Linked DNA regions of Homo sapiens: region 1 is linked to region 2. Evidence: promoter capture Hi-C in human tissues and cell types (Jung and others, 2019). All regions are on one chromosome and are shown on one strand. Each heading gives the region's core, a stretch centred on a gene start or on the middle of the fragment in contact. The rest is flanking DNA. Distances are from core to core; before and after follow the strand shown.

Region 1 (4,522 bases), core at 115-2,614, 1.9 Mb before region 2:
CCCATTTGATGTTTATTTTTAAATATTATGATAATTTTTTTTTTTGAGACGAAGTCTCATTCTTGTCACCCAGGCTGGAGTGCAATGTCGTGATCTTGGCTCACTGCAACCTCCATCTCCTCGGTTCAACGGATTCTCCTGTCTCAGCCTCCAAAGTAGCTGGGATTACAGGTGCCTGCCACCACATTTGGCTAATTTTTGTATTTTTGGTAGAGACTGGGTTTCACCATTTTGGTCAGGCTGGTCTTGAACTCCTGACCTCAGGAGATCTGCCCGCCTTGGCCTCCCAAAGTGCTGGGAGTACAGGCGTGAACCACCTCACCTGGCCCTATGATAAATATTAACTTATAAATTAGTAAGATGTTTATCTCATAGTATTGTATATTCAAAGATAAACTTAGAATAAAACTTGTATCTTAATTACAGGAAAAATATCCATGCCACAAAAATGTCCATTTTTTAAGAACTACAACGATTTTTAACAAGAAGGTCTTAATTTTGCTTTGTGATTAACATTATGGCCACTGGTTTAACAAGTTAATGTATTAGGTTCTCTTTGGCTAACTCCAGCATATGATGAGATAATAACGTGATGGGAAATTCATACAATTTTCAGAATTATACACACTGACAGTTGTGAAAAATAAACATTTCCAGTGAGGCTGACATGACAACTTTAGGGAAAAAAAGCAAGCATTACTCGGAAATGCTAAGACAACTAAGCAAGTATAGGGCTATATAGCAAGTAAATGTCTTTAAACATTCCTCTGTATTACATATGAGTGCTTTTTCTGGATAATGTATTTTCATCAAAATAACCAACATATTATAAAAAATGATGCTTTAAAAAGGAAACTGCTGTTCTTCATCAAAATAGTTTGGAAACATGACATCTCATTTCCTGTAATTAAATGAGTTATTATTATCATTTAGTGACATCATAATGGGATATTATTAGGTAAATGAGATATTATTTTCTTTACATTATAGTGATACAACAGTAGAGACTCTGAAACCTCAAGAACTGATCAGATGGAGCACAAAGAGTGAGATAGTTATATTTCTCCAGACTTTTCTAGCAGGAAGTACAATAAATAGTCCGTATTTATTCCTTTGTAACTATCTTCTACTTAAGTGGACACAGCACATGGTGTGTCTGTTCTGTGAGTCCAGCACATGCTGAACATAAAAACAAGTATTTTTTAATTTCTAGTTTTTTTTTAATTAAAAGTATTATAGAGATGCAGTCTTGCTATGTTGCCCAGGCTGGTCTCCAACTCTTGGCCTTAAGCAATGCTCTCATAAAGGTAATTCTTTTGAGAAAAGCTTTTTAACTTGTCTGTCATTATCATGAGGCATTTTTAGCACCTATTATATGTATTGTAAAGAAAATCTGTCATATAATAAAATCTAGATATATTACCTTGTGTTTACTCTACCGGCATTTGAGAAAAGGGGATACACTCAGTAAAGGTGCAATGAAAGAAATTCAAATGACATTTTTAGAAGGCAGTATGTTTGGCTAAAGTCTGCAGGAATCAATTTTGCAGAGGTAGAGATAATGTAGGCATTTGAGTAACAAGGGATTTACTGTTTAGTGTTCTGTAGACACATACCATTTACATCTTTTTGTGTGTTGGGCAGTGAATATATACAAATGAGAACTGTATTTTTCATTTCTTAATTTCAACTTTTATTGAATATTCGGGGGTACATGCACAGGTTTGTTACATGGGTATCATGATGCTGAGGTCTGAGGTACAATAGATCCCATCACCCAGGTAGGTAGCATTGTACCCAGTGGTTAGGTTTTTCACCCTTCTGACCCTTTATCTCCCACATGCCAAGTAGTCCCCAGTGTCTATTGTTGCCATCTTTTTGACCAGTATTACCCAATGTTTATCTCCCACTTATAAGTTAGGATATGCTATATTTGGTTTTCTGTTCCTGATTTAAGTTGATAATGGCCTCCGCCTCCATCCATGTTGCTGCAAAAGACATGCTTTTGTCCTTTTTTATGGCTGTGTGGTATTCCATAGTGTATATGCACCACATTTTCTTTATCCAGTCCACCATTGATGGGGTCCTAGGATTATTCCATGTCTTTGCTATTGTGAATAGTGCTGCAATTAACATAGATACAAGTGTATATATCTTTTTGGTAGAATTATTTATTTTCTTTTTGATATATACCAGTAATGGGATTGCTGAGTTGAGTGGTAATTTCGTTTTAAGTTCTCTGAGAAATCTCCAAACTCTTTTCCATAGTGGCTCAACTAGTTTACATTCCCACCAACAATGTACAACTGTTCCTTTTTCTGTGCAGCCTTGCAAGGATCTCTTGTTTTTTGACTTTTTAATAGTGGCCCTTCTGGGCTGGGCATGGTGGCTCATGCCTGTAATCCCAGCACTTTGAGAGGCTGAGGCGGACAGATCACCTGAGGTCAGGAGTTCAAGACCAGCCTGGCCAACATGATGAAACTCCCCTCTACTAAAAATACAAAAAAAAAAAAAAAAAGGCTGAGCATGGTGGCATGTGCCTGTAATCCCAGCTACTCGGGAGGCTGAGGCAGGAGAATCTCTTGAACCTGGGAGGCGGAGGTTGCAGTGAGCCGAGATCGTGCCATTGCGCTCCAGCCTGGGCGACAGAGCAAGACTCTGTCTCAAAAAAAAAAAAAAGAAAAAAAAAGAAAAAGAAGTAGCCCTTTTGTTTGTAACACAAAGAAATGATAAATGTTTGAGGTGATGAATACCCCATTTAGCCTGATGTGATTATTACACATTGTAGGCTTGTATCAAAATATCTCATGTACCCTATATATATAAATATATGGGGGTATATATATATATATATATATATATATATATATATATATATACACACACACAGTGGGTAAATATATATATATATATATATATATATACTGTGTACTCATAAAATTAAAAATAAACAATTTAAAAACATCAATAGTAATAATAGCCATTTTAACTAGAGTGAGATCGTATGTCATTGTGGTTTTATATTTTACAAATGGGTAATGAGTAGTGTGTAGAACAAATTATAAATGAGAGTTGAGGAACTAGAATGGTGGCTGGCAGAAGTTTATGGGAACACAGATTAGAAGGTAATGAAGTACACTTTGTTACTGAAATATTCAATTCCTCTAGTACACAAAGAAGAATGAAGGTTAGAAATAATCACTTTTCCCAGATTTTTTTTATATGTGAAAGTTTTAAATATTTTAACTCTTATATTATTTTCCCCCTTACCATGTTTATCACCTGCCAAAGAACTACAGTATAATTGAGGTATTTTATTGAAGAGAAATGTTGCTTTCAGTGGAGTTGACTATTTTATAAAGAATATTTAAGTATTGCTTTATTGACCGTGATACAAACTCATGCAGTTAGGTTTAGAATCAAGGAGATGGTGTCTGTGATGTTAGTTCTACTTTGTCATGAGAGTAGAACCTCTATTATTTTTGTTTTTCTTCTCTAATATTTTAAGTGATAAAAAGAAAAAAGCATGAATTTTTAAACTAACAGCAGTCATTAAATTTTAACTTTGAAATAGGAAGTTTTCTACTTAAGTAATATATTTATACTCATCAGTTTTCTTTTTCTATTACTTAATAATAAAATTATATTTACTTTATTCCCATGCACACATTAAAATGAAAGTGTTCTGAGTTTAGTTTTAAATTTTGTATGGATTCAGATATTGGTTTAAATTCATATAAATTATGAATCCATATAAATATTAGCTTTTTCTAAACAGCAAAGTATTATAGCATAACTTTTAAGTTTTAGTATTTTAGTAGTGTGCTACTTGGAAAAATTAATATTGTAATTTACCTTTTCTCAGCATAAGAGGAAGAATGAAAAATTCTGGGCATACCTTTCAGAATCTCATTTTGCTAGATATTTCACATTTAAATACAAAAACACACAGCAATCCAAACTAAATATTCTCCTTTGCAAAAATGTATAATGACATCATATTATAATAAGGAATAACATAAGCTCTCTATTCATATTTGCAAAATATATGTTTTTGGACTTGTAATGGGACTTGCCTCCAGAGCAAGAATTCATAGAATTAAGACACATTTTTGAAAATATTCATGAAAGATGTATTTTGAGTTACTCAAAACCATAAGGTAAATCAATACTTAGCAAAGAACAAGTGAAAATACTTTGTGGCTGCTATGCTGAGAGTTTAAGGCAATTCTATCATAAGGATTGAGTATGCTTTCTTAACGCAATCCAGAAATCAGAGCCAAATAACTATCCTCAGAGCAGTAATTATATAATATTGCCAGGTTAATTGTCTTTTCAAAAAATAACAGTGAAATCACAGTATTAAAAATATATGCACTACTGGTGTATTGTTTTCTCTTCTCCACTGCATACGTAGTGTGTACAACTCAACTTTTACCAAACTGTATGTACCCAGTCTATTCCTATGTCTTGCTCTTGACTGTGTCAATGATGAAATCTTGTCACTTGTACATCTCTCATT
Region 2 (4,544 bases), core at 1,074-3,573:
TCTGAACTATGGCTGCATAGCAGAGCCCTGTATAGAGGCTTTTAGAATATATTACAGGCTGTGTCCCAAACTCCAGAGATTCTGATTAAATTAGCCTTAAGTGACCATTTTAAAAAGCTTCTCAGATTATTTCAAAGTGAATCTACATTTGAAAACTACTAAACTGGAGGATTTGGGAATAATGAAAATGCTTTGCTCACAGTACACTAAAACATTTCCAAGAGGGGAAATAGTATGAATATGACTATACAATATTTGACTTTCTCCAGGACAGATACTCATTAGCCAGGACTGGACTAGTTAATGCTCTGAAGTTCTTCCTAGTTATCTTATTCTAAGATATCATGGTGTTCTTTCCATGTTAAATGGTTATAATTTTTCTTGATAGAATACATAATGACTTACCAATTTTTAGAATGTCACTGTAAATAATATTTGAAGGAAGCTATGGGGAGTGCATCTCTTCTTTCAATTCATTATCTGAATAAGCAAAGTATAATCTATGGAATTGCATCAAAACACTTTATAAAGTAAAATGACATTAACACCAACATTAATATAATCAATATTGAGTCAATGTCTACTAATGGAAACAAAAGATAAGAGAATGATCAAAATTGAGAGTAATTAATCAGTGAATGCTTCTTGGAAGCACTGGTTTGTTCCAGATTCAGAAGGAAGTGATGAAATTCAAGTCAACAAAGGGGTTCTCTGTAAAATGCTGTGTTGAATAAAATGTGAATGAGCTTTGGTTTTCACTCTCAAGGCATTTATGATCTAACTTAGTAGTAGTTCTGTCTAACTCTAATACAAAATAGGGTGTGTTACGACAGCATAGAAGATAGATGGATTTATTCCACATTAAAGGACTGGACACTACTTCATGGGCAAAAGGAATTTGAACTAGCCCTTGAGATGGTGAAGGAGAGTGGTTGGGAGGACAAATACGTGCTTTCCAAGCAGAAATATTAACATAAGTAAAAATATGGCAGCAAAACATTTTCTGGAATGTTCAGGAAAAAGTGTACAAGATGAATGAAAACAGCCAGAAGTGAGAATGTACAACTGTGTCTGGAAAAATAGTAACCCAATTCAGAAGGCTAGAGAGAAGGGCTCAAGTGAGGGAACGGGAGGAAAAGAGGTTTGCCAAACTTGGAGGTAAGGCTTTGAAAGGTTGTGTAATGAGCTTGACATCCACACATCCAACATTCCTAAAGAATTCCAATTATAACTGAGACAATATTATGACATTAATACCTGACCTCGACTAGTCACTCGATTGTGTTAACAAATCTTCAGTTTGCAATGAGGCCAGATTGACATAAGTCAATCATTATAAGAAAAGAAGTCACAATGATCAGGATTTTATCTTAAGGAATAAGCTTGCAGAAAATCCTTTCACTGGAGACTGAGAGGCTGTCATTCAGGACTTCCTCAGCTTTTTCCATGGAAGAGAGTACCCAACTTCCTCATTCGGAATTTATCTACATAGGTTATTAAGCTACTCAATGAAATATTTTGACCAAATGTTTATGAAAAATTTTTCTGTTTTATTTAATTATTCTGCTTTTTTATTTTAATTTCAAGATCTTTTCTATCCTGATAGAGAAGAATTTCTATCAATAGAAAGGATTTCAGGAACCTTTCTCTATCCTGATTGCCTAAAAAATACACTGGAGACAGAAAAAAAAAATCATTGTATAAAAGGTAATTAGCACGTTCTCTCCTTTTTATAACTTTATAATTGAAATCTCATTAAAAGCTTTCTAGGTCTGTATTTCCCTAAGTGACCAGGTGTCCCTAATTTGTTTTCAACCAATGTGACTAATTCCAGGCAAAGACTAGAAAAAGTCTGATACCTGTTAGAGAATAGCAAGGTTAAATAAGTGGGGTGGCTTTTTTAGGTTGCATTTAACCTCGTAAAATAAAGAAAGGAAAAAAAAAGCTTCAATGTCTTTTTACAGTCCTGCCTTTTTCTCAGTCCCGGTTGAAGATTCCATGGGAAATGAGAGCACTATTTTGTTTCTCCCTTGTATTGCAGATAGGGGGAGGAGGTGGTTATTAGAGAGAAGCTCTTCCTCTCTTGGTTTCCCCCTCTCTCCGCCTGACAGCACCGCTCTCTCGCAGGCTCGCTCCTTCTCCTAGGTGATCCATTTCTAGGCAACGTGGGGCTGGTGCTGAAGCTGCCAGGCTCGCTCCTTGCTTCCTGCATCCCGCCAGGCGAAACGCTCCAAAAGCATCCTGCAGCCTGCGGCGGCTTCCCTCCTCTGGCCCGGCCCCGCTGCTCGCGCCCGGCGCAACCCCCCCGCCACCGCGCCCCAGCAAACCGGCTCCCCGGGCCCGCCTCGCCAAGCTGCGTTCCGCGCCTCACGCAGAAAGGGAATTTTCTCTGCATTACTATCTGCATTACCTTGAAGTTCACTTTTTCTACCCCTCTTGGAGAGGGCTTTTTTCCCCCCTCCCTGGTGGAATCTGGCTGCTCCGTTTGGAATCTCCTAATCTTTCCTTTCCACTTAGATTCTGGCAGCGAAGACCAGTGATTCTCTGCGGGCTGTAGGGGCGGGGGCGGGGGTCTTTTTTGGTCCGAGAGGGTGCGGGGAAGGGGGCACATCCGGCGTGAGGGGGGTGTTGGAAGTTGCAGCGGAGCTGGGACCGGAGACCCGCGGCCCCCGCGCAGCGATGGGTCTGATCTGAGCCCCAGCCTCTCCCCCTGCCCAAGAGCAGTAGAGGCTGGATATATTTTTCAAAAGCCAAACTGCAAACAACTCTGGCGATGCCAAAATTCCCCTCCAAGTGACACGGCTTTGCGAAGGAGGTTTCCTCAGGCTGGGCTCTTTCTGTCATTCCCTTCTGCCTTTCTCGGCGACGATAAAAGGCTTTGCTCTGGCAATAGGAATTTAGAAAAAAAGAAAAAGCTGCGCTAAACTCCACCGTGACCTCAAACTCTTTGGACTGTTTGAAAAAAAAAAAATTGGAAGAAAATCCATCCTCCAAGAGAATCGGCATAGGAGGAGATGGAAGTTTTCCCCTTTCTCTTGGTTTTGTCCGTCTGGTGGTCTCGAACCTGGGACTCGGCGAATGCGGATTCGATCATTCACATCGGTAAGAAAGTGTTGGTGCAGCTCGTGGTTACTTTTACCGTTTCAGTTCTCAAATGTTTCCCCTTCGCTTTCCCCCTCTCCGGTCTCTGTGTGTCTTGTTGGAGGTGGCTTCAGTTCATTGCCCCTTCCCGCTACCCTTCCCTCACACTTGCTCAGTTTTCTGAAAGGATGTGGATGCTCGAACCTCGACTGACTTGTGCTGTTGTTTTGCAGTGATTCGTGGAATGTGGCTGGATGCGTGGGGGTCTCGAGTTGACCTGAGTGTGAGTGTGTGCTGGGAACTGCAGGGGGATTCTAAGTGTGTGGGGAAAGGGAGTTTAATTGACTCTTATCTTCCATATTTTTTTTCCCGGATGTACATTTGCTCCATTTAAAAATTTATCTTTGGGGGAGCAGAGAAGCTGTCACCTGTGAGATGAAAAGAACTGGGCTGGGGGGTAGGGGGAGCTCCCTTCGGATCGAACAGGTGGTTTTGCAACGTGAGCCGGCTGAGTTCGCCGCAGCTTAGTGCGATGGTGACGGGGGTGCCGGATGCGCCCCCAGCCACCCTCTCTTCTCACATCTTCTTGGCTTTATGATCCTTGCGTGTAGTCTTTGAGACGGTGGCAGGAGGGGCTGGCGGCAGTGTCGCCAAGGACTGATTGTCGCGTGCCTCGCCTCCTCGGACACGCTCCCGGGGCCTGGCGCGGCGGCGAAACTGACCCCGGGGCGCTTGGGAAACGCGGGGAAGCGAATGCGCGCAGGCTGCTCCCGAGGTCTGCTTAGCAGATATCCGCCTTGCCTCGCCTCGCCTCGCCTCGCAGTCAACTCCGAGTAGCCGCGCAAGGCAGACAGCGAAGGCGCCGGGACTACTGCGGGCCGCGACTCTGAGAAGGACTGCCGAGCGGGCTCCGAGATGCTGGTGGCCCCACCTATTGGCAACCAGACGGGCCGGGACTGGCCGCGGCGAGCAGGGGCGGGCGGGGGGCTGCGCGTCATTATCATGCACAGCGCTCGCAGCTTCAGGCTCCAACTCTACTCACTTGCTAATCCGTGAGAGCTGAGCGGGAGACAGGCTCTTGCAGCCTTTTCTGCGTTAATGCGACGATTTCTTTTTCGGAAATTCGCTTACCGAGCCAGCAAGGTTTCTTTGCTGGGCTGCAGAGAGGTCCCTTTGGGGGAATTTTTCTGGGCACAGGACTTTTATCTGTACGCATGGCTTGGTGTTCTGCAAATTGAGGCGACAGATGGGTCACAGCTTCTCCCCTTTCTGTACCCCTGCTTCTCCACCGCACAACACGCATACACATACACACACGCACGTACACATACTCCTGGTAGGGGAATCTGCTGCAGGTGGCGATTGTGCCCGCCCAAGCGAGGGATTTCTGTCTAGCGTGCGCGCCCACAGTGGCCAGCCCCTCCGCTCCAGGGGGCTCCCTCTCTTGGTCTCAGAGGCTGTCT

Evidence for each region. Contacts are between HindIII fragments. The study calls those that stand out against the background at their distance.
Region 1: a fragment that was not itself captured here is called in contact with the fragment with the promoter of GRID2 in region 2 in 1 of the 25 tissues and cell types used here (dorsolateral prefrontal cortex).

The regions. Positions count from the first base shown.
Region 1 is chr4:90,388,608-90,393,129 of GRCh38, forward strand. All of the region lies in intron 3 of CCSER1 (coiled-coil serine rich protein 1), which reads left to right. Among named protein-coding and RNA genes, the nearest start is that of CCSER1, 260 kb to the left of the region's middle. The HindIII fragment of the contact is 5,574 bases long and covers 1-4,151 here.
Region 2 is chr4:92,301,643-92,306,186 of GRCh38, forward strand. GRID2 (glutamate ionotropic receptor delta type subunit 2) reads left to right here and starts at 2,324. Exons shown (of 16, transcript NM_001510.4): 1 at 2,324-3,102. The coding sequence starts at 3,015. RefSeq lists a silencer at 3,856-4,150. The HindIII fragment of the contact is 11,112 bases long and covers 1,573-4,544 here.